Linked DNA regions of Homo sapiens: region 1 is linked to region 2. Evidence: promoter capture Hi-C in 16 types of primary human blood cells and fetal thymus (Javierre and others, 2016). All regions are on one chromosome and are shown on one strand. Each heading gives the region's core, a stretch centred on a gene start or on the middle of the fragment in contact. The rest is flanking DNA. Distances are from core to core; before and after follow the strand shown.

What was found. The method cuts DNA at HindIII sites, captures the fragments that hold promoters and counts their contacts. A CHiCAGO score of 5 or more calls a contact.
Region 1: a fragment that was not itself captured here is called in contact with the fragment with the promoter of TINAGL1 in region 2 in 1 of 17 cell types (M1 macrophages); the score reaches 5.4 in M1 macrophages.

Annotation. Positions count from the first base shown.
Region 1 is chr1:31,415,606-31,421,703 of GRCh38, forward strand. The region is part of intron 1 of SERINC2 (serine incorporator 2); the gene reads left to right. Among named protein-coding and RNA genes, the nearest start is that of SERINC2, 5.4 kb to the left of the region's middle. The HindIII fragment of the contact is 1,435 bases long and covers 3,738-5,172 here.
Region 2 is chr1:31,573,237-31,579,197 of GRCh38, forward strand. TINAGL1 (tubulointerstitial nephritis antigen like 1) reads left to right here and starts at 3,279. Exons shown (of 12, transcript NM_022164.3): 1 at 3,279-3,359; 2 at 3,898-4,222. The coding sequence starts at 3,913. It overlaps LOC105378626 (a long non-coding RNA gene), which reads right to left and starts at 4,661. Exons shown (of 6, transcript NR_188671.1): 1 at 4,608-4,661; 2 at 2,174-2,434. RefSeq lists an enhancer at 3,090-3,810. The HindIII fragment of the contact is 15,245 bases long and covers 1-5,961 here.

The sequences.
Region 1 (6,098 bases), core at 3,205-5,704, 160 kb before region 2:
AGTTAATATTGTTCCCATTTCACAGATGAGGAAACTGGCTCAGAGAGTGAAGGTGACTTCTCCACAGCCACACAACATTAAGTGGTGTAGTTGGGCACTACTGGACACCAGTACCATCCTGTTGCAGTGAAGAGTTGCTGCACAGGAGTGAAGTTCTATGTGGGGTTTCTGGGCAACTTCAGGAGGGATTTTTTTGCATGCATGGGTCAGTGGGGAAGATTTTTGTATCCTCCCAGGTGTGACTCATCTGCTGATTGTGCTTCTCAGCATTGGAACTGGGCTGAAGGTGAACTGGGCTGAAGGTGGGTCCTGCTTTGGATGGGGAGGTAAGATGGGTCCACAGGGGATGGGGCCACCAGGCAAGCCGCCGGCACATGATGACTTGGCTGTCTGCAAAGATTTCAGGAGGGTCTTGCACATCCTAGGGAGTGTGAAAGGCCTTTGGGTCAGACCACTGGACTCGGATCCTAGCTTTGCCTCTTCGCATCTCTGTGACTGTGGGCAGTCACTTTGCCCATCCCCTTGTCTGTAAAGTGGAGAAAACAATGGTGTCTGCCCCTTAGCCTGTTGTGAGGATTAAATGGGACTGAGGTTAGCACAGCTGCATATTTAGCACCAAGCTGGTGTGCAGTGGCCGGTCCATAAACACCCCACAGTAGTACATGACTCAAGACTACATGCAAGGAAGTGCTGAAGCCAGTGAGACCCAGGGCTGCCTAACTATAGAGCCTGGGCTCGGAGCCCCTGTACTCTCCTACCCCAGGAGATCATTTTACAGATGAGGAAACTGAGTCCCATGGAGGGGAGGAGAGACTTGCCTGAGGTCAGATTACAAGCTGTGGCAGAGCCAGCATTAGGACCTGCATTCTTGGCACTGCATGGGGGAAGTAAGTGCACCTTGGGACATTTCCGGCTGACCTCTTCTCTGCTGTGTTTTGACTAGCCCTGGGGCGGCTCAGCCAGTTACGGAGTTGTTCATGAAGGCGGCAAGGTGCATGCTTGCCTGGGCCAGTTTTGCATTTTTTAAACTGTGACGAAATACATGTTAAAAAATTTACTCTTTTAACCTTTTATTTTAGTCTTCAAGGAGTTTGTATGTTATTTCATTTTATTTTATTTTACTTTATTTTTTTGAGATGAAGTCTTGCTCTGTTGTCCAGACTGGAGTGCAGTGGCACCATTCTGGCTCACTGCAACCTCTGCCTCCAGGTTCAAGTGATTCTCCTGCCTCAGCCTCCCGAGTAGCTGGGATTACAGGCGTGCGCCACCATGCCTGGCTAATTTTTGTGTTTTTAATAGAGACGGGGTTTCACCATGTTGGCCAGGCTGGTCTCGAACTCCTGATCTCAAGTTATCCACTGGCCTCGGCCTCCCAAAGTGCTGGGATTACAGGCATGAGCCACCACACCCAGCCTGTAATTTATTTTAGAAGACATGTATATTAAAATGGAGATCTAATAAATACAACCCTAATAAAAATTAATCCCAAACGAATGGCATTGTCAGAAGGAGTAGTGCCAACTAAGGCACACGGTAACTCCAGAACATCTTCTTACTGTCAGCCCTCATCTGGATTACTGACAACAGCCCCTGACTCTCCTCCCTTCCCCCAAAGATACCACACACTACCCCATGACCTGTCTTTTTGTGATCAAAGTGATATTTCTAAAATGCAAATCTGCTGTCATTCCTCTTCTTTCGCAATCATTCCCCATTGCTTTCAGGGTGAAGTCCAGACTCCCTGGCATGGCATACAGGGACATTGACCACCACTTCCGTGACCTCTGTAGCTTTTCTCACCCTTTCAGCTGCCCTGAAAATACAGTGTCCCTGTAGCTCTGCATGTGTCATTCTCTTTGCTGGGAATACCCTTCTCGCCTCTTCCTGCTCTTCTTTGAAAACTCCCTGCCCCCTCCCTTTTAAAAAAATTGAGGTAAAAGATGCATAACATAAAATGTACCATTTTAACAATTTTTAAGTGTAGCATTAAGTACATTGACACTGTTATGCAACCATCACCACCATCCTTCTCCAGAACTTTTTCATCTTCCCAGACTGAAACTCCCACTAAACAGTAACTCCCCAGCCCCTCGTAACCACCAATTCACTGCTTTTCTCTATGAGTTTGGCTACTCTCTCCATCTAAGTGGAGTCATACAATATTTGTTCTTTGGTGTCTGGCTTATTTCACTTAGCATAATGCCCTGAGGGTTCATCCATGTTATAGCATGTGTCAAAATTTCATTCTTTTTTTTTTTTTTTTTTTTTTGAGACAGAGTCCTGCTCTGTTGCCCAGGCTGGAGTGCAATGGCACAATCTCGGCTCATTGCAACTTCCACCTCCCGGGTTCAAGCAATTCTCTTGCCTCAGCCTCCCGCGTAGCTGGGACTATAGGCACACACCACCATGCCCAGCTAATTTTTTTGTATTTTTAGTAGAGATAGGGTTTCACCATGTTGGCCAGGCTGGTCTCGAACCCCTGACCTCAGGTGATCCGCCCGCCTTGGCCTCCCAAAGTGCAGGGGTTACAGGCATGAGCCTCCGCACCTGGCCTCATTCCTTTTTAAGAACAAATAATATTCTATTGTATGGATATGGATATACCACATTTTGTTTATCCATTCATCTCGTCCACCAATGGACATTTAGCTTGTTTTCACCTTATGACTACTGTGAATAATTCTGCTATGAACATGGGTGTGTAAATATGTGAGTCCCTGCTTCATTTCTTTTGGATATATATCCAGAAGTGGAGGGCCACTTTATTTTATTTTATTTTATTAAATTTTGAGACGAACTCATGCTCTGTCACCCAGGCTGGAGTGTATTGGCGCGATTCAGCTCACTGCAACTTCTGCCTCCCGGGTTCAAGCGAGTCTGCTGCCTCAACCTCCTGAGTAGCTGGAATTACAAATGCCTGCCACCATGCCTGGCTAATTTTTGTATTTTTTGTAGAGACGGGGTTTCACCATGTTGGCAGGATGGTCTCAAACTCCTGATCTCAGGTAATCTGCCTGTGTTGGCTTCTCAAAGTGCTGGGATTACAGGCATGAACCACCACGCCCAGACAGCCAGTTTGTTTTAAATAGAAAAATTCATCCAGCCCTCAGCTGCCTCCCTTACCCACCCAACACCCTATGAGTGGTTCTAAGAACTTCTGTCCCTGGCTCTGAGGACAACCAGGAGACAATGTGAATGACTCAGTGACAGCCTGTTCACATAATGCCAAACGACTCATGGCTCCAGAGCTGTCTGCCTTGCCTTGGGAGGTAGTGAGCTCCTTGTCATTGGCAGTGTGCAAGCAGCAGAGGATGGCCAGATGCTTTCTGGGTGGTTCTTCATTGGAAAGAGAATGGATTGGTTGAATGCCAAGGAACCTTGCAGCTGTAAGGCTCTGAGGCCTGGGGCTTCTTAAATTCTGAGTTCTCCATTCTGAGAACCTGGGCTGGTACTAAGATTCAGCCACTGTAAGTGTTCTGGGGCTTTTCTGTTGCTGCCCTTGAGTGCATCTGCAGGAAGAGGGGAGTGGTTGTAATCGTAGTGTGGGAACAGCTTTCCAGTCTGCCTTCCTTTCACACTGCATCATGAGCATTATTCCATGTGGCTCTGTAGCCAGGGAATTCATCTTTCTGGCTCTGTAGCATTCCATGGAGTGAAAGGGCCACGGCTGTCCCCAGGTGTTAGACATTTAGGTTTTTTGTAGTTTCTTGAGACTCCAATAGGCTCACAAAACCTAAAGCTTATTTAAGTTTTTTCTTTATATAAAAATCTTTATTTTTATATTTGTAAATTTAACTTAATTGAAGTATTATTTGTATACAATGAAATGTACCCAAGTTAAGTGTTACCTACATATTTGCCCCATTCAGCAGAGAAATCCGTTTTATGGAATACCATGATGTATTGATGGGCGTTTTGTTATTTTCAATTTTCCCCTAATGGCCAGGCATGGTGGCTCATGCCTATAATCCCAGCACTTTGGGAGGCCAAGGTGGGAGGATCCCTTGAGCCCAGGAGTTCAAGACCAGCCTGGCCAACATGAGAAAACCCTGTATCTACCAAAAAATACAAAAATTAGCTGGGTGTGGTGGTGCATGCCTGTGGTCCCAGCTACTTGGGAGGCTGAGGTAGGAGGATCGCTTGAGCCCAGGAGGTTGAGGCTTCAGTGAGCTGAGATCACACCACTGCACTCCAGCCTGGGTGACAGAGCCAAATCCTTTCTTGAAACAAAAACCAAGAAACCAAAAAGAAAAATTAGCTGGGCATTGTGGCTGGTGCCTGTGGTCCCAGCTACTCCGGAGGCTGAGGTAGGAGGATTGCTTGAGCCCCGGAGGTGGAGGTTGCAGTGAGCCGAGATGGTACCACTGCACTCTAGCTTGGGTGACAGAACGAGATCCTGTCTCAAAAATTTTTCCCCCTATTATTTTCCTATTATGATCAGTGCCACAATGAATTTCCATGTGTTTGTATATATGTGCACACATCTGCCCTTACTCCAATGGTCTGGCATTTCTGTAGGAAGAGATTTAAATATATATAAAATGACATTTTGGTCAAATGGAAGAGGTTCTTGTAGGAGCCATTCTGGGGTGGGGTGAATGGAGCAAGGTGGACAAACATTTCCAAGGATGCTCTGGAAGCAGTGTGTGTTTTTCTCTTTGACCTGGTCTCTCTGGCTGCTGATCAGGCCCTTGGAAATCCTGAGATTTCAGGCATTAGGAACACCTGGATTTTGATGTTTAAGAACCAGAGCGAACTGAAAGGCCAAGCTCTCTGAAAGCGGAACAGCTTTCTTGTGTCTCAGATGTCTCAAATTGAAATTAAATGGTAACAAGCCAGCATCAGGACCTGACAGGGCACCTGGGCACCTGGCTCCTGAGATCAGTACCCACTGGCCTCCCTTGGTTTTCTGGTATTGGGTTTTTTGTTGTTTGTTTGTTTGTTTTTTCATCACTGGGATGTATTTAAATTAAATAAGATGACCATCAGTGAATTAGCGAGCTGGAACTAGTGTAGTCCTGTAGGCAGAGCCTGGCCCTTGGTGCACACAGATCTGAATTTGCATCCCAGCTCCTCAGCTTACTTGCTGTGTGACCTTGGTCATGCCACTTCTCTGTCTCAGTTTTCCCATTTGAAAATGGAAAGTTACCACACAATTCATAGCATCAGTGAAGCTTAATGTAGATAAAGTGCTTATCACAGTGCCTGGGACTGAGTAACCCTTCGTAAATGGTAGCTGCCACTAATACTACTTGAATCTCAGTGCTGTTATCAACTTGCTGTGTGACCTCTGGTAAGTCTCTTAGTCCCTCTGGTCTCAATTTCCACGTCTGTAAAATGGGACTAATAAGCTGCTCTAACTGATACCCAGAATGTTCTTTATAGCAGGGGTCCCCAACCCCTGGGCCATGGACTAGTATCTATCCATGGCCTGTTAAGAACTGGGCCACACAGCAGGACGTGAACAGCAGGTGAACAAGCATTACCGCCTGAGCTCCGCCTCCTGTCAGATCAGTGGCAGCATTAGATTCTCATAGGAGTGCGAACCCTATTGTGAACTGTGCATGCGAGGGATCCAAGTTGCGTGCTTCTTATGAGAATCTAATTCCTGATGATCAGAGGTGGAACAGTTTCATCCCAAAACCATATCTGCCCCCTGCCAGCACCCCTGCTGCCATCTGTGGAAAAAGTGTCTTCCCTGAAATTGGCTCCTGGTACCAGAAAGGTTTGGGACCACTGCTTTATGGCCTCTAAAACATTTTTCAGGCTTTTCTTATCCTCTCACCCACCAAGGACAGCCATGGATAGGAGGCAGGTCTTGGGGTGGCAGCTGCAAGATGTAACCAGAAGTTGCTGGACAGGTGGACTGTTTCAATTTAGACCATGAGGAATAGTTTCGTTTCCAAAGCATTTTGTTTAGCATCTGTGTGAACGAGAGATAGGCGAGGAGCATTTCTAGTTTGGGGGAGAGTAAGAGGGGAGGCAGATGCCCGCCAGCAGGGTGTGCTGTGTGCCTTGTGACCAGTCCAGAAAGAAAAGCAGAGGTCTCTGAGGAGCAAGGGGCCCCTGCCAGCCTGCTCTTTTCAAAGCTCATCTTT
Region 2 (5,961 bases), core at 2,029-4,528:
CAGAGGAGAATGGCTGATTCCGAGCATTTAGAGCAGTTGTGAAGTTTGTGGGGTGTGGGGAGCTCTGGGACTCCATAGAGAGGAGAGCCCTCTGCTCTGCCGTGTGTTCTTAGGCTTGTCACTGTCCCTTTCTGGCTTCACCTCCCTCTGTAAAAGTAAGAGAATACCAGAGGGCCTCCAGGGAGCATCTGGGTACAGGTTGGTACCAACGCCCAGAGAGGGGCTGCGCTGCCGGGGGTCCGGAGTAAGGGAGGACAAAACCACCACAGGGACCTAGGCTACCTGCCTCTTGAAAAGCCGGAAGGGCTCAGAGGGGGAAGTCTCGCTGGTGTCTCCTCCTCTGCTGCTCTGTCCCAGGCCCTTGGATAAGGCCCCACTTTGCTCAAGAATAAGTCATTGAGTCGGCCAGGCATGGTGGCTCATGCCTGTAATCCCAGCACTTTGGGAGGCTGAGGCGGGCGGATCACAAGGTCAGGAGATCGAGACCATCCTGGCTAACATGGTGAAACCTCATCTCTACTAAAAAAAAAATACAAAAAATTAGCTGGGCCTGGTTGTGGGTGCCTGTAGTCCCAGCTACTCAGGAGGCTGAGGCAGGAGAATGGCTTGAACCCAGGAGGCAGAGCTTGCAGTGAGCTGAGATCACGCCACTGCACTCCAGCCTGGGCGACAGAGCGAGACTCCATCAAAAAAAATAATAATAAGTCAATGAGTCACTAGGAGTCACTAGGAGGCAAAGGGTCAAAGGGTCATGGAAAAGGAAAGTGGGGGTGTCCAGCACCCCCGGCCCTGCCCTTTTCCTCCTCGGCCAAGGAACCCAGTGAGTCACAAAATTCCACTGGGGCGGGCTCTGTGCCAAGCTGAGTGATGGTGGGAGGCTCTGGCTCTGCTCCCATCCCCTGCTCTGAGTCCCTGCCTCTTATGCACAGACAGGCAGGCAGACAAGGACAGGCAGATGGCCACAACTCCCACACAGATACACAGACACCTCTTAGACAGGGAGGCACAGGCAGGACACACACACAGACATACAAGCCAACAAGTGCACAAATGCAGGCAAACAACACACGCTGGCAGACAGACAGATCCATAATGGACACAGAGACAACATCCAGACAGATACACACACACAGATGCACAGGTATGTAGCAGATGGACAGGTAAATGGATAGACAAGCAGACAATCAGTCAGACAAGGACAGGCAGATAGCCAAAATATCCAGACTCACAGATACACAGGCACATAGCAGATAGACAGGTAAACACACTTCGGAAGGCCAAGGCAGGCGGATTGCTTGAGCTCAGGAGTTGGAGACCAGCCTGGGCAACATGGTGAAACCCCATCTCTACTACAAATACAAAAAAAATTCAGGCAGGCATGGCGGTGTGCACCTGTAGTCCCAGTTACTCAGGAAGCTGAGGTGGGAGGATTACTTGAGCCCAGGAGGTCAAGGCTTCAGTGAGTCGAGATCGCGCCACTGTACTCCAGCCTGGGTGACAAAGTGAGACCTTGTCTCAAAAAAAAACAAAAAACAAAAAGCAAAAAAAACCCAGACGATCAGATGTGGACTGACAGACTCAAGCAGAAGCAGAAACACCCCCACAAACACCGCAACTCAGATATACACATGCATACATGCACACAGAGATAACACACCCAGACTCACGAGGGTAGCCTATGCGGTGTGATTTTGGGCAAAAGAGAGGCCAGATGTCTCTAAACAAGCCCCCAGCCCCAGAACCATGAAAAAGTAGGTACCATAAAAGTAGGAACTCTGGACACGAACTCTTTTGAAAGAAAGCAGCTTTCATCTCTTACCCTGAGGATATGACATTTACCAATACCGAGGGGCCCGTCCTGCAGTAAGATGAATGGAGTTTAGATAAGAAAAGAGACTTCCCAACCAGGAGCACGTTGAGACCTGTAGTGGGTGACTAAGGGTGACTAGGGGTAAAGGAGTGGGCTGGTGGCAGGCAGGGAGCCTGTGTTCTGGCTGCACGACCTCAGGCAAGTGCATTCTTCTGAGCCTCAGTTTCCCACCTAGGCTTTGTCCTCCCAGGTCCCTGCAGGGAGCAGATGGGCAGCTCCTGGGTGTGTTAGTGCCAGTGCTGGGGCCCCCGGATATTATCCCTCCACCCCCACCACCAGGGCAGGACCCCCTTGGTGACTCACCACCCAGTGGTCCATGGCAGGGGTAACCCAGCCACAGGTGCCGGTGATCCTCGGCTCTCTCCCTTCCCCCAGGGTCTGGCCAGCTGAGGATGCCCCTTGGTTTGGGGGAGGTTTGCAGGGAGGTCAGTGGGAGGGCAAAGGGAGTCCCTGATGCCTTCCCCGGGGCCACATGTGAGGCTCAGGCCTGGGCCTGGGAGGGTTTGTCCAGGTGTAGTCTCTTTTATCCTCTTTGCTGGTAGAGACCTCTGGCCTGGGCCCAACCTGTTGAAGAGAGGGCGTTGCACAATAGGGAGGTAAAAGGTGACGGCAGACCTGGCGGGACAGAAGCCCCATTGTTTGGGTCCCAGGCCAGCCTGGGCAAAGAAAGGTTTATGCCTGCGGCAGGAAGGAGGGCCTCTGCAGGGGGTGCCAGCTGGTAGGGCCCTTGCCTTTGGACCCTTGGAGGGGGACAGGTGCCAAGCAGGATGCCCTTGGGTTTGCTAGAGAGGGCAGTGCTCGTCTAGGGGCCCAAGCAGGCAAGGGAAGGCAGACTCAACAAGGGATCAAAGGGTGCAGAGGCCACCCCCACACCCTGCCCACCTCCCAGGGATGAGCCGCCCAGGGCACCTAAGGATCATACTCCTGGAATTCCAATCATTCCTAGGAGCTGGGGTGGCTAGGGGGGCGGCACCCAAGCCTAGGGGGCACAGTGGAGAGGGGTGTGCATGGCTATTTTTATTACCGAGGGGTCAGGAGAGGCTTACAGAATTTTGCCTCACATGCCCTCCCCATCATTTCCCAAACTTGTGTCCATAACCCAGAGCTCGGCTGCCCATATCCCCCCTTCTCCACCAGAGCCCCTCAGCTCCACAGGGATGCCCACTGTGAAGTCCTTCCCAGTGTGAAACCGCAATCCTTCCTGCTTGGGGTTCCCCTAAGGGAACGGCTTCCGCCACAGGAGACCCAGCCAGGACAATCGTGTGCTTGTCGTTTCTCCACCCTGCAAGCCCATGAGTTGTGGGGTAGTTACTCCAGGTACAAGCCAGGCGCCCCTCCCTTCCGCCACTGCTGGGGCGGTGCAGAGGGCGGGCGGTACAAAAAGCGCCCCGCCCCGCGCTCCTCTCTTGACTTTGAGCGTCCGGCGGTCGCAGAGCCAGGAGGCGGAGGCGCGCGGGCCAGCCTGGGCCCCAGCCCACACCTTCACCAGGTAGGGACGCTCCCCTGCTCAGAGGGCGGAAGGTGTAGACAGAGAAGAAACAGGGGGAGGGGGCAGGTAGAGGAACCAAGACAGATGGCAGAGAGAGGGACAGTGGAGGGGGACAGAGGGACACAGGAACAGAAGAGAGGTGTACCCAAAAGACCGGGGGAGACAGGAAAGCACAAAGTCAAGGACCCAGGTCAGGGATGGAGGCTGCTGGAGGGCAGAGAGACCTAGGACAGGAGAGAAGACCTTGGGTCCACAGGATGAGTGTTGGGTGGGAGCACCAAGAATGCCACCACCCTCATTTCCTTGTCCTTGAAGGTCCCTGCCTAGGTCAGGGAGGGGCTCCGTTTCTGCCCAGTCCCCATCCCCCTATAGCCAGGGCCCACACACTGGGGCTCCTCTGCCCGTGTCCTGCCTGGGGACTCAGGAATCGGGATCTCCCTCCCTGCTGGGCCCTCTTGAACTCACAGCTCCAGGAAACTGGGAGACTCATCCCTGGTGTTCCAGGGAGTCTCTGCTGCCCACCATCTCTGCCCCCCAGGGCCCAGGAGCCACCATGTGGCGATGTCCACTGGGGCTACTGCTGTTGCTGCCGCTGGCTGGCCACTTGGCTCTGGGTGCCCAGCAGGGTCGTGGGCGCCGGGAGCTAGCACCGGGTCTGCACCTGCGGGGCATCCGGGACGCGGGAGGCCGGTACTGCCAGGAGCAGGACCTGTGCTGCCGCGGCCGTGCCGACGACTGTGCCCTGCCCTACCTGGGCGCCATCTGTTACTGTGACCTCTTCTGCAACCGCACGGTCTCCGACTGCTGCCCTGACTTCTGGGACTTCTGCCTCGGCGTGCCACCCCCTTTTCCCCCGATCCAAGGTGGGCACTAAGATGGCCAGGAGGGTGGGTCACTTTGTCCACCTCAGACTCAGCAAGGCTCAAGAGCAAAGCTGATGGATGCACTGACATTTCCAGGGGAAGCTCTGTAGAATCTGGGACTCTTCCCTGCCCCTCTGGGAACTTTACTCTCCAGCAAGACTGAAGAAGCTCCTTGGTTAGAATTCTAATTTGGCCCAGGGAAAGGGCAACCTCCCACATTTTCTCCCAATCCTGTCTCTTTTCCAGACACGGAAGGTGCTGGCCGCACCTGCTGACTCACTCTTGGGCTGATAAGGCACATATGGGTTGGTGAGGGTCATCTTAGCCATTTTTCTGCCTTTGCTGAGGATTCTAGGATCCTGTGCCCCGAGATGGCTGCTCATACCTGGGAGATGGGTCAAATCTTTTCCTGCTTTCAGCCTCACCATCATCCTTTTCCATGCACTTGCCCCTGTCCAATAGGAGAATCACTTGCGTTCCTTCCCACAGTTCCATGGGGCTTGGGCCGGCAGACTGCATACCTGAGCTGTCATCTCAAGAGTGCTGTGTTATCTTAGGACGGTTGCTTACCTTCTCTGGGCCTTGGCTTCCCCATGCTCCTCCCACTCCCCATCTCCAAGCCCTAACTTATTTAAATGGAAAAGGATCCCAGGAATGTTGTGGCTGGCATCCAAGTAAAGTAAGAGGAATCCAGGTTGGAATCATTGAAGAACTTCCCAAACAGCAGTTGGTGTGTGACCCTGCAGGATTTGTCTTCAGTTATAGTTTAATTTCAGTGAGAGCTGGTGTGTGTGTGTGTGTGTGTGTGTGTGTGTGTGATGTCTTCAGTTATAGCTTAATTTCAGTGAGAGCTGGTGTGTGTGTGTGTGTGTGTGATATCTTCAGTTATAGTTTGGCTTCAATTTCAGTGAGAGCTGGTATGTGTGTGTGTGTGTGTGTGATGCCTTCAGTTATAGTTTAATTTTAGTGACAGCTGGTGTGTGTGTGTGTGTGTGTGTGTGATGTCTTCAGTTATAGTTTAATTTCAGTGAGAGCTGGTATGTGTGTGTGTGTGTGTGATGTCTTCAGTTATAGCTTAATTTCAGTGAGAGCTGGTGTGTGTGTGTGTGTGTGTTGTCTTCAGTATAGCTTAATTTCAGTGAGAGCTGGTGTGTGTGTGTGTGATGTCTTCAGTTATAGTTTAATTTCAGTGAGAGCTGGTGTGTGTGTGTGTGTGTGTGTGTGTGATGTCTTCAGTTATAGCTTAATCTCAGTGAGAGCTGGTGTGTGTGTGTGTGTGTGATGTCTTCAGTTATAGTTTAATTTCAGTGAGAGCTGGTGTGTGTGTGTGTGATGTCTTCAGTTATAGTTTAATTTCAGTGAGAGCTGGTGTGTGTGTGTGTGATGTCTTCAGTTATAGCTTAATCTCAGTGAGAGCTGGTGTGTGTGTGTGTGTGTGTGATATCTTCAGTTATAGTTTGGCTTCAATTTCAGTGAGAGCTGGTATGTGTGTGTGTGTGTGTGTGATGCCTTCAGTTATAGTTTAATTTTAGTGACAGCTGGTGTGTGTGTGTGTGTGTGTGTGTGATGTCTTCAGTTATAGTTTAATTTCAGTGAGAGCTGGTATGTGTGTGTGTGTGTGAGACAGAGAGAGAGAAAGAGAGAGAATCTTGGAAAGGTTCAAGGTACCTGACCTCCAAGGACCTGGCCAATTAGCCCATCCTCTCTGGTTCTGGTTCCACTTCTCTTCTCTTCCCTTC